Linked DNA regions of Homo sapiens: regions 1 and 3 are each linked to region 2. The links are contacts of gene promoters, found by promoter capture Hi-C in blood cells and fetal thymus (Javierre and others, 2016). All regions are on one chromosome and are shown on one strand. The core of a region is centred on a gene start or on the middle of the fragment in contact, and the rest is flanking DNA. Distances in the headings are between cores, read along the strand shown. Region 1 overlaps RNF4 (ring finger protein 4). Region 2 holds the start of NOP14 (NOP14 nucleolar protein). Region 3 overlaps FAM193A (family with sequence similarity 193 member A).

What was found. The method cuts DNA at HindIII sites, captures the fragments that hold promoters and counts their contacts. A CHiCAGO score of 5 or more calls a contact.
Region 1: a fragment that was not itself captured here is called in contact with the fragment with the promoter of NOP14 in region 2 in 2 of 17 cell types (naive B cells and total B cells); the score reaches 5.0 in naive B cells.
Region 3: a fragment that was not itself captured here is called in contact with the fragment with the promoter of NOP14 in region 2 in 1 of 17 cell types (naive B cells); the score reaches 5.4 in naive B cells.

Annotation. Positions count from the first base shown.
Region 1 is chr4:2,494,765-2,497,601 of GRCh38, reverse strand. RNF4 (ring finger protein 4) reads right to left here. Exons shown (of 8, transcript NM_002938.5): 3 at 481-595. Among named protein-coding and RNA genes, the nearest start is that of RNF4, 27 kb to the right of the region's middle. The HindIII fragment of the contact is 184 bases long and covers 1,177-1,360 here.
Region 2 is chr4:2,962,047-2,964,980 of GRCh38, reverse strand. NOP14 (NOP14 nucleolar protein) reads left to right here and starts at 1,575. Exons shown (of 18, transcript NM_001291978.2): 1 at 1,575-1,856. The coding sequence starts at 1,662. GRK4 (G protein-coupled receptor kinase 4) reads right to left here and starts at 1,410. Exons shown (of 16, transcript NM_182982.3): 1 at 859-1,410. The coding sequence starts at 910. RefSeq lists silencers at 738-787, 958-1,387 and enhancers at 850-1,383, 1,384-1,917. The HindIII fragment of the contact is 6,609 bases long and covers 1-2,934 here.
Region 3 is chr4:2,630,919-2,633,618 of GRCh38, reverse strand. It overlaps FAM193A (family with sequence similarity 193 member A), which reads right to left. Exons shown (of 21, transcript NM_001366318.2): 5 at 2,450-2,684. Among named protein-coding and RNA genes, the nearest start is that of FAM193A, 96 kb to the right of the region's middle. RefSeq lists enhancers at 2,126-2,625, 2,626-2,700. The HindIII fragment of the contact is 716 bases long and covers 1,006-1,721 here.

The sequences.
Region 1 (2,837 bases), core at 19-2,518, 470 kb after region 2:
AAAACAATATATGCAGAGCAAAGGGACTTAGGCCAGCCATCAACCACTTCTTGAGCAGGCAGAAGGGGAAATCCAATCTGGCCTCTGCCTATACCAAGCTCCAACACAGGGAGCTCTGTGGACAAGTTTGCCTTCTTGGGTGATTTCATGTCCTAATGAAAAACAGAAGAGGAAAGCGAAGTACTTTACAAGGTCCAGCAATTGGGGATGCAGTTTCAGATAGAAAAGGTGGGCTATCTCATTTGCGCTAGATTTTTTTTTAAATGGATCCTACCCCACTGCTGCACATTACCAGAGTTGAACAGTTAGCCCAGTTGAGAAGCTATTTCAGAATCTGTGAAGCTTTGAGTTGTACATGGTGAGTGTGAGACTGCATAGGCCTTCTAAAGACACTGAAAGCACCTTCTACTAGCTCACCCTGGTACAGTGTTCTCTCTCCACTTTAACACCCCACAGTTGTAGTGTCCCTGGCAATCTTACCAGTTTCCACGAGTTCTATGGGTTCTGCTTCCAAGGAGATCTCGGGGGTGGAGGTTGCTTCCCGAGTTCGCTTCTGAGCTTGTCTAGAATTTATTGCTCCACCACGACGCTTTCTCTGAGTAGCAAGGGGGAAAGAAGAGTCACATGAACACCAGAATGTCAGGGTTTCAGGAAGAACTAAATGGGCAATAGAAATGGTTCACTTCATTAAGAAGCCAGCGAGTAGACTTGAAGTTAGGGCTCCTTTCAAAACTTGAGATTCAAGAATACTGAATGCTTACGGAGAGAGAAACCATCCAAAACATAAAATGAGTAGAAATTCCAGAAAGTAAAACTTCTGTTTTATCAAACTATCAGCAGGTCGGCTGGGCATGGTGGCTCACACCTGTAATCCCAGCACTTTCGGAGGCTGAGGTGGGCGAATCATGAGGTGAGGAGTTCAAGGTCAGCCTGGCCAACATGGTGAAGCCTCATCACTACTGAAAATACAAAAGTTAGCTGGGCGTGGTGGCAGGCACCTGTAATCCCAGCTACTCCAGAGGCTGAGGCAGGAGAATCACTTGAACCTGGGAGGCAGAGGTTGCAGTGAGGCGAGATCGCGTCACTGTACTCTAGCCCGGGTGACAGTGTGAGACTCCATCTCAAAAAAACTATCAGCAGGTCAAAAGGGACACGATGCATCCCTTTACAAAAGCTTGAGGCCAAGTCAGGATTTGGACTTGGTAGTGGATGCCCTGGCCAAAAGGCTGGAAACTCTTCCCTTTAACCAAAAGTTATCAATTTCTCTTCCTTGACTTTGTGTTCAGCCTTTCTGAGCCCTTTTTGTTTCTTAGCATAAAGAACTTGGAGTTTTCTGAGTTTCTATACATTGTGGAAAGCTTATCTTCCCCTGGGAAATGTGGCCTTGAACCTTTCAGGGCACTATCAACTGTGATTCACACCAGACAATCACTCCCCACAAAGAACTCAAAGAACCAAAGCTGTTTTAAGCCTGTTCCCAGTGGCTACCCAAGAGCCATGTCTTCCGGAAAGTTCAGGCTCTCAGCTGGTTGATAAGCAACTGACACTCTGACCAGCCTTTCTTCCAAATCCTTAGGCTGCTGGTTTGCCAATATGCTCCAGCATTTCTGGTCTGCCTGGTCCCAAAAGACAAGCTGAGAATATCCTCCACCTTAATCAAGAGACAGAGCTGGCCAGGCGCAGTGGCTCAGGCCTGTAATCCCAGCACTTTGGGAGGCAGAGGCAGGCGGATCACCAGAGGTCAGGAGTTCAAGATCAGCCTGGGCAACACGGTGAAACCCGTCTCTACTAAAAATACAAAATTAGCTGGGCGTGGTGGCACATGCCTGTAATCCCAGCTACTCGGGAGGCTGAGGCAGGAGAATCACTTGAACCTGGGAGGTGGAGGATGCGGTGAGCCGAGATTGTGCCATTGCACTCCAGCCTGGGCAACAAGAGTAAATCTCCATCTCACCCCCCCCCAAAAAAAAAAGAGCTTCCCAACAGAGCCTGTCACCTTGTATTCCCACTGGTGTTTCCGTGCTCTTCTCCCTGTGCCCTGTCCTGCTATCCTTTGCACTGGACAACCTGGGACAAGTACTGCACTACTAAGTCTCAAGTTCCTCACCAGTACCAGCCTTGCAGAGCTGTTATAAGGTCTAAATGAGATCATGTATGTAAAGTACTGCGCAGAGACGGAAGATGCTACTACTATCCCAATTCCTTAGCCTTACTAGGGTCAATCTGTCCCAGGAAACTCTGAAAGGACCAGATATTGCAGGAGAGATTCATACAAGATCCAGGAACACCCACCATCCAGCCAAGCCCTCGCTAGGCAACAGGGATAAGCCTGATTCTGTGTTCCAATGCTACTCTTATCAAATGGCAGCTTGAGATGTTTTGGAAATGAAGCTGGGTCTAGTAACTTCCCACGGACTAAGGAGCACAGAACCAGCCCCAGGAGGGCCCAGAGGCCAAGCGACAGCAGCCAAAACTCCCAAGTGAGCAGCTGCTCTTGGCCTCAAGGGAGCTGACACTAACCTCAGTGGAGTTCTACTGCCCAGTGTTTTAAGGGTTTCCCCAGCAGCCACCAGGTTGCTTATGTAAAAAGTAAAGTAGAGGTTCCTCTTCAAAGACTTTCCTCCCCATCTAATTAGAAATAAATAGTAACTTCTCTTAAAAGCAAAATTTATTCAAAGACCTGTACTAACATTCTTAAATATCTGCTAGCCATAATAAAGAAATCAATGTACTTTATATTCTTAGCTCCCACAATTTAGCCTAAATATTTACCTTGGCATGCTTATATTAGTCCAAGCAAGCATTAGATCATAGCCTGTTCCTCTTCCTTATTTAAA
Region 2 (2,934 bases), core at 326-2,825:
GGCTAAACACAGATATTTGTCCTCTTTTTTTTTTTTCTTCACCCCTGCTCTGGAAGGGGGGTGTCTGGAGCCTATTCCTTTGGATTCGACTTCTCAAACAGAACAGCGTTATCTTATAACTGTCCTTAAAGTGAGCTTGCTAAGCAAAAGAAAACTTGTTCTTCTTTTCTTTTTAACCCTTGCCTTGCCACATTCTGGGCCTTGGCTTTTTCTTTTCTTGGAGTGAATGAATGCAGTACTTATTACTATTTTTAAATTTCTGCCTCACTTTAATAATGATAAAAGGCTGAATTTTTGCCAACTTGTCCATCTGTGACCACGTCGTGCTAAAGCACACTTGACACACCATAGAGCCTCAGATCAAACCTCAAAACCAAGCAGCTATGTTAAAAATAACATTGCCCTACAATCATTATCGGAAGGTTCTCGCCCAGAGTAGTTCCCAGGCTGCTATTCTTTGTCCCCCTTAAGACCATAAAGACGCCGTTCTTTTTTGGTGGGACAGGTTGTCCAACACAAGCAGGACACTGCCTGCCGCATCCTGAAGCAACACTGTCACCGAGGTCACACCGAGAGGACAGGACAAGGACACAGGGCAAGACTAAGAAGAGCAAAGCGCAGACTTCTCTCATCTGGGCCAGGAGATGGGGACTGGGACCTGGCCCGGGCAGCCTGACCACACTGCACAGACCCCGGCTCCGGCTCCGTGCAGATCTGGGTTCCCCCAGTGGGAGGTGTCGGGGCTCTCCAGGGAAATCGGGGTTCTCCGGGGATGTCGGGTTCCTTCAGGGGGGCCAGGGTTCCCCGGGATTCGGGGTTCTCTGGGGGGGGGGTCGGGGGCGCCTGCCGCGCACCCACCTTGACGCGCTTTCAGCAGCAGCGAGTTGGCCACGATGTTCTCGAGCTCCATGTCCTGGCGCCGCCGCCGCCGGCGGATTCTGCGAGACCGAGGAGACTGAGGAGGCGGAACAGGAGGAGACGCCGCCGCCCCCGTGCATAGCTCGCCGGGCACCACCCTCTCCTCGAGCTCCGGACACGATCCCGGGAGGCTGCTCCGCCGCCACCACTGCCACCAAGGGCGCCGCCGCCGCCGCCTCCGCAGGCCCTCACCAGCAGGGGAGCGGTCGGGGCGAGGGGAGGGGGCAGCCCGACCGCGGCGGGTCCCAGCTGTCACCGCTGCCGCGCTATCGCCCCGGTTCTTCTTGGCCCCATCGCCCTCGCCTCGCGCGCGCAACTCCCTCCTCAGTGCCCTGCCCCCGGGCAGCCCCGAGTCAATGCCGTGGCTCACTTCGGACAGGGGCTCACTGGCAGGGGCGCCCGCCGCGGCCGGCGACCCGCTCCCGGGCGGGCTCGGCGCTAACGGCTTAGCTGAAGAGGGAGCGCCCCTCGCCGCCGCGGCCGGGGCACTACAGCTCCCAGAAGGCCCTGCGCCAAGAGTACACGGCGGGCCGCGGCGCGTGGCCTGCTGGGAGTTGTAGTCGCTGAGCCTATCGGCGAGTAAGCCGAGCCTGCGGGCGCGGTGTTTACTTCTCGCGAGTCGGAGGTGCTGCGCTGTTCTCGCGAGACGAGGAAGCGGTTCCGCGGCCCGGCACGTGTCTTAGGGTAGCGCGCGCCTGTCTCTCTTCGGGTCTCGGGCCCTTGGGCGCAGCGGGGCGCGCGCCATGGCGAAGGCGAAGAAGGTCGGGGCGCGAAGGAAGGCCTCCGGGGCGCCGGCGGGAGCGCGAGGGGGCCCGGCGAAGGCCAACTCCAATCCGTTCGAGGTGAAAGTTAACAGGCAGAAGTTCCAGATCCTGGGCCGGAAGACGCGCCACGACGTGGGACTGCCCGGGGTGTCTCGCGCACGGGCCCTCAGGAAGGTAAGCGGGGGGCGCACGGGGAGCCGGAAGGCAGGATCTGGACCCCACGCTGCTCTCGGCCGGCTGCGTCCTTCTCGGTGCGTCGGTTTCCTCGTTGAGCGGCACAGGCCGTGACAGGCACACGGCACTGACTTGATAGTCCGAAAGCCTCTGCTGTTCTCTGAGCTGGAGTGACCTGGAAACTCTCGCCGTCTTGGAGACCCTGCACTCGTGTTATTTCGGCGACTCCTCCAACCGGGTCAGGCCGAGTCAGTCACTTCGGGCGGCGCCCTGGACCAAGCTGCTTGTTAACCCTTCCGCGTTTACTTTGAGCTCTGCAGGTTTGGGGACGGTGGATAGGGGCTGTGTAGGATGCTGCGTTTGATGTTTCATCGGCTCTCTCCCGAAGCGCGTAACCTTGTTCCTTGGGAAGTAACTCTATGGAAACTCATTGCTTCCTAGTTTTTTTAACTTTTTTTTTTTTAAATTTTCACTGAGGAACATACATTAGCAGGTTGGTGAAAAAATTAAGGCACAGAAAGGACAAGTGCATTTCCTAAGGTCACGCACCTGGTAAGGGCTGGGCATGCATTCACATTTCAATATCTACAAAGCCTTCTTGCTACCCCGAGCGCTTCTGTTTGACCTCGCTTCTAGGTTCGGGGAGATAAAGGTAAATAAGACTTGCCCTTGCCTTCATGAGCTCCTGATCTCTGTTCATCACAGTGTGCAAGCTGGATGGTCTTTGAATCAAAACACATATTATCCTTACTGCGCGAAGACGACAGCCTGTATAATGAATAGGCAAGATAGACTTACAGCTGACTTCGATAGGAGTCCCTCATTACACACCCCCGGGCCGGGGTGGGAGAATAAGGTAGTGTGGTTCCCTAGAAGAGACACATTTGTCTTCACCACTGAAGCCTCAGTTTTCTCATTTCAAAAGTAGAGATGATAGTATACATCCTACCCCTCGTGGTGGTTTGTGAGAATTAAGTAAGATAGCACATAGAGCACACAGCAAGTGTTCTCTAAATACTGTTATTCTTAACCTTCTTGGCTTGTCGTTCGAGTCCCGCACAGTCTGGCTGTTGTCCTT
Region 3 (2,700 bases), core at 114-2,613, 330 kb after region 2:
CGCCTGGCTTATTTTTTTATTATCTAGTAAATTCAGTTGTTTCCCTTGGAGGAAGGAATAGTTAAGGGTATCTAGTCTGCTGGACCCCTAGAAATCAATGTGGGTATTTCTATGTGTAAAGGAAGTGAAAAAAGACACTAATCAAACAGCTTCTGGGTGTATGCATTTTTTTCAAGCCACAAGAAATTATTTCTTTTTTATTTTGTTTTGTTTTGTGTGTGAGACAGAGTCTCGCTCTGTTGCCCAGACTGGAGTGCACTGGCACAATCTTGGCTCAATGCAACCTCTGCCTCCCGGGTTCAAGTGATTCTCCTGCCTCAGCCTCCCGAGTAGCTGGGACTACAGGCGCCCGCCACCATGCCCGGCTAATTTTTGTTATTTTTAGTAGAGACGGGGTTTCATCATATTGGCCAGGCTGGTCTTGAACTCCTGACCTCAGGTGATCTGCCTGCCTCGGCCTCCCAAAGTGCTGGAATTACAGGCGTGAGCCACCGCACCCGGCCTCAAGCCACAAGAAATTATTTCTATGTCAACTGCTAGGAATTTGCTCTAATAAATATGGTTCAAATTAATTTTTGTCAGCTTCATAAAACAGTATCCTACAGTAACTATCTGAGGAGGTGCAGACCTCGCCAGCATTTTCTGGAGAGCAGCAACAGCTGCTGTCTTCACTACCAGAGTCTCTCTGGGCACCAGGTTTAGGTGGGCTGGAGAGCATCCTTCTTAACCTGAGCCAGTGTTCTTGTAGAAGACAGAGGAGGGGCTCTGGATTTGAACCTCTGAAGGGCAGGCAGACTCTCAGGTAGAGACGGGGAGGCTGTGCTGCGAGAGATGCCAGAGGAAGGACGAGGTACCAGAAGGAAGCCTGGTGGCACTACCCAGTGGACTCAGACCTTGAAACAGGATAACTGCCCCCCTGCCCCACCCCCACCCCTCACCCTACCCATTCACCTCGCTACCTCTTCTCAGAATAGATACCTCCCCATGGCTTGGCGCAGTGAAGCTTGAGGAAGTCTGTGAACCCCCTGAAATGACTTACAATTACATGTATGTAATTTTTTCTTTTCTTTTTGAGATAGGATCTCACTCTATTCCCAAGCTGGAGTACACTGGCTCACCACAGCCTCAACCCTGAGCTCAAATGATCCTCTTGCCTCACAGCCTCTTGAGTAGCATGCGTCATCACGCCTGGTTAATTTAATTTTAAATTTTTTTGGTATAGGTGGGGTCTCCCCATGTTGCCTAGGCTAGTCTCAAGCTCCTGGGCTCAAGTGATCCTCCCACTTTGGCTTCCCAAAGTGCGAGGATTACAGGTATGAGCCACCACACCCGGGCTGTATGTAAATTTTTCTAAGAGGGTCCATCAACTTGAGAATCAGATAAAGACCAAGGCCAATGCTTACTGTATTTGTTTCAAAATGTAGGTTTACCACTAAGAAAGCACCCAAAACTGATGCTCAGCCCTCTCGCCATGTGATGCCCTGTACCACCTTTGGACTCTGTTCAGAGTCCAAGTCCCCACCTGCAAGAAAGCTCTCACCAGATGTGGCCCCTCAAACTTAGACTTCTCAGCCTTCCTAACCATGAGAAATAAATTCCTTTTCTTTATTAAAAGAAAGAAAGCACCCAAAACTAGCACCCAAATACAGTTAAGTATTATTTAATAATAAAGTTTAAGTGATGAAAAACTCCATAGACTATTAGTAACAGTCAAGGAAGCTTTGAGGGCTTGTCTCTGGTCTCCTTCCAAAGCGTGGGGGCACTGAGGCTGTTGAGGATTGACCGCAGCCTACTTGTAACCATATTTCTATACCATGCTCCTTCCACCCAATGTAGTGATTCCTCTTTTGAGGCAACCGGACCCATCTGTGTGTCTCTTTTGTTAGGACTGTCAGATCCCCATTGGCAAGGATGGTGATAGGGCCTGTCTTGAGACTGCAAGCAGATCCTTAACTCAGTGCTGGCTTGCTGAGTGCATGCATGCCTGCATGAATGAATGAACGCCACTGGGCGGTAAACAAGCTGTTCTCTACAGCCTTCATGCTCTTCATGGGCATTTCACCTAATACCAGCTCTGTCTACAGCAACGAAAGAATGAACAACCTAAGTAAGACACCGGAGATTTCTCTGTCTCCTTATAAAGGCACACATCAGTGCTCCCCTCACACTGCCCCCATGCCTCGTTCCCTGGGCCTCAAGGTCCTCCAAACAGTACTACCATGAGGTGTCACCTGCTTATCAATCCACCCAATGCTTTTATCCAGTGGCAAAGTCCAGAGGAAAGACAAAGAGGAGAGGAAACAGGTCCTCTCCCGTAGAGAAGAGGGGCCTATCACAGTGTGTGGGGGTGTGACAGCGAGGTCGGCACACATGCGTGAGAAGCTTCCTCTTGCCACATGCTTCTCTTCAGCTCATCCAAACAGAAAGAAAAACACGTTTTCTCTCTTACCAGAGTGCCAAGGAAGGTGCTGATGGAGCGTGCGGCCTGGCAGAGGGCGCCGTACTCCTCAAGCAGGAGGGAGATGAACTGGTGCGCTTGCGGCGGGCCCTGCAGGCCAGATGGTGCCTTCACCTTGGCCGCAGCCGACAGCTGCCGGAGCAGGCGGACCTTCATCTCCAGCACATACTCTCGAGCTTGCTGTTCCAGACGCTGGTACAGCTGGTAGGGGTCCCTCTCGCAGAGCCTGCACAGAGAAGAGG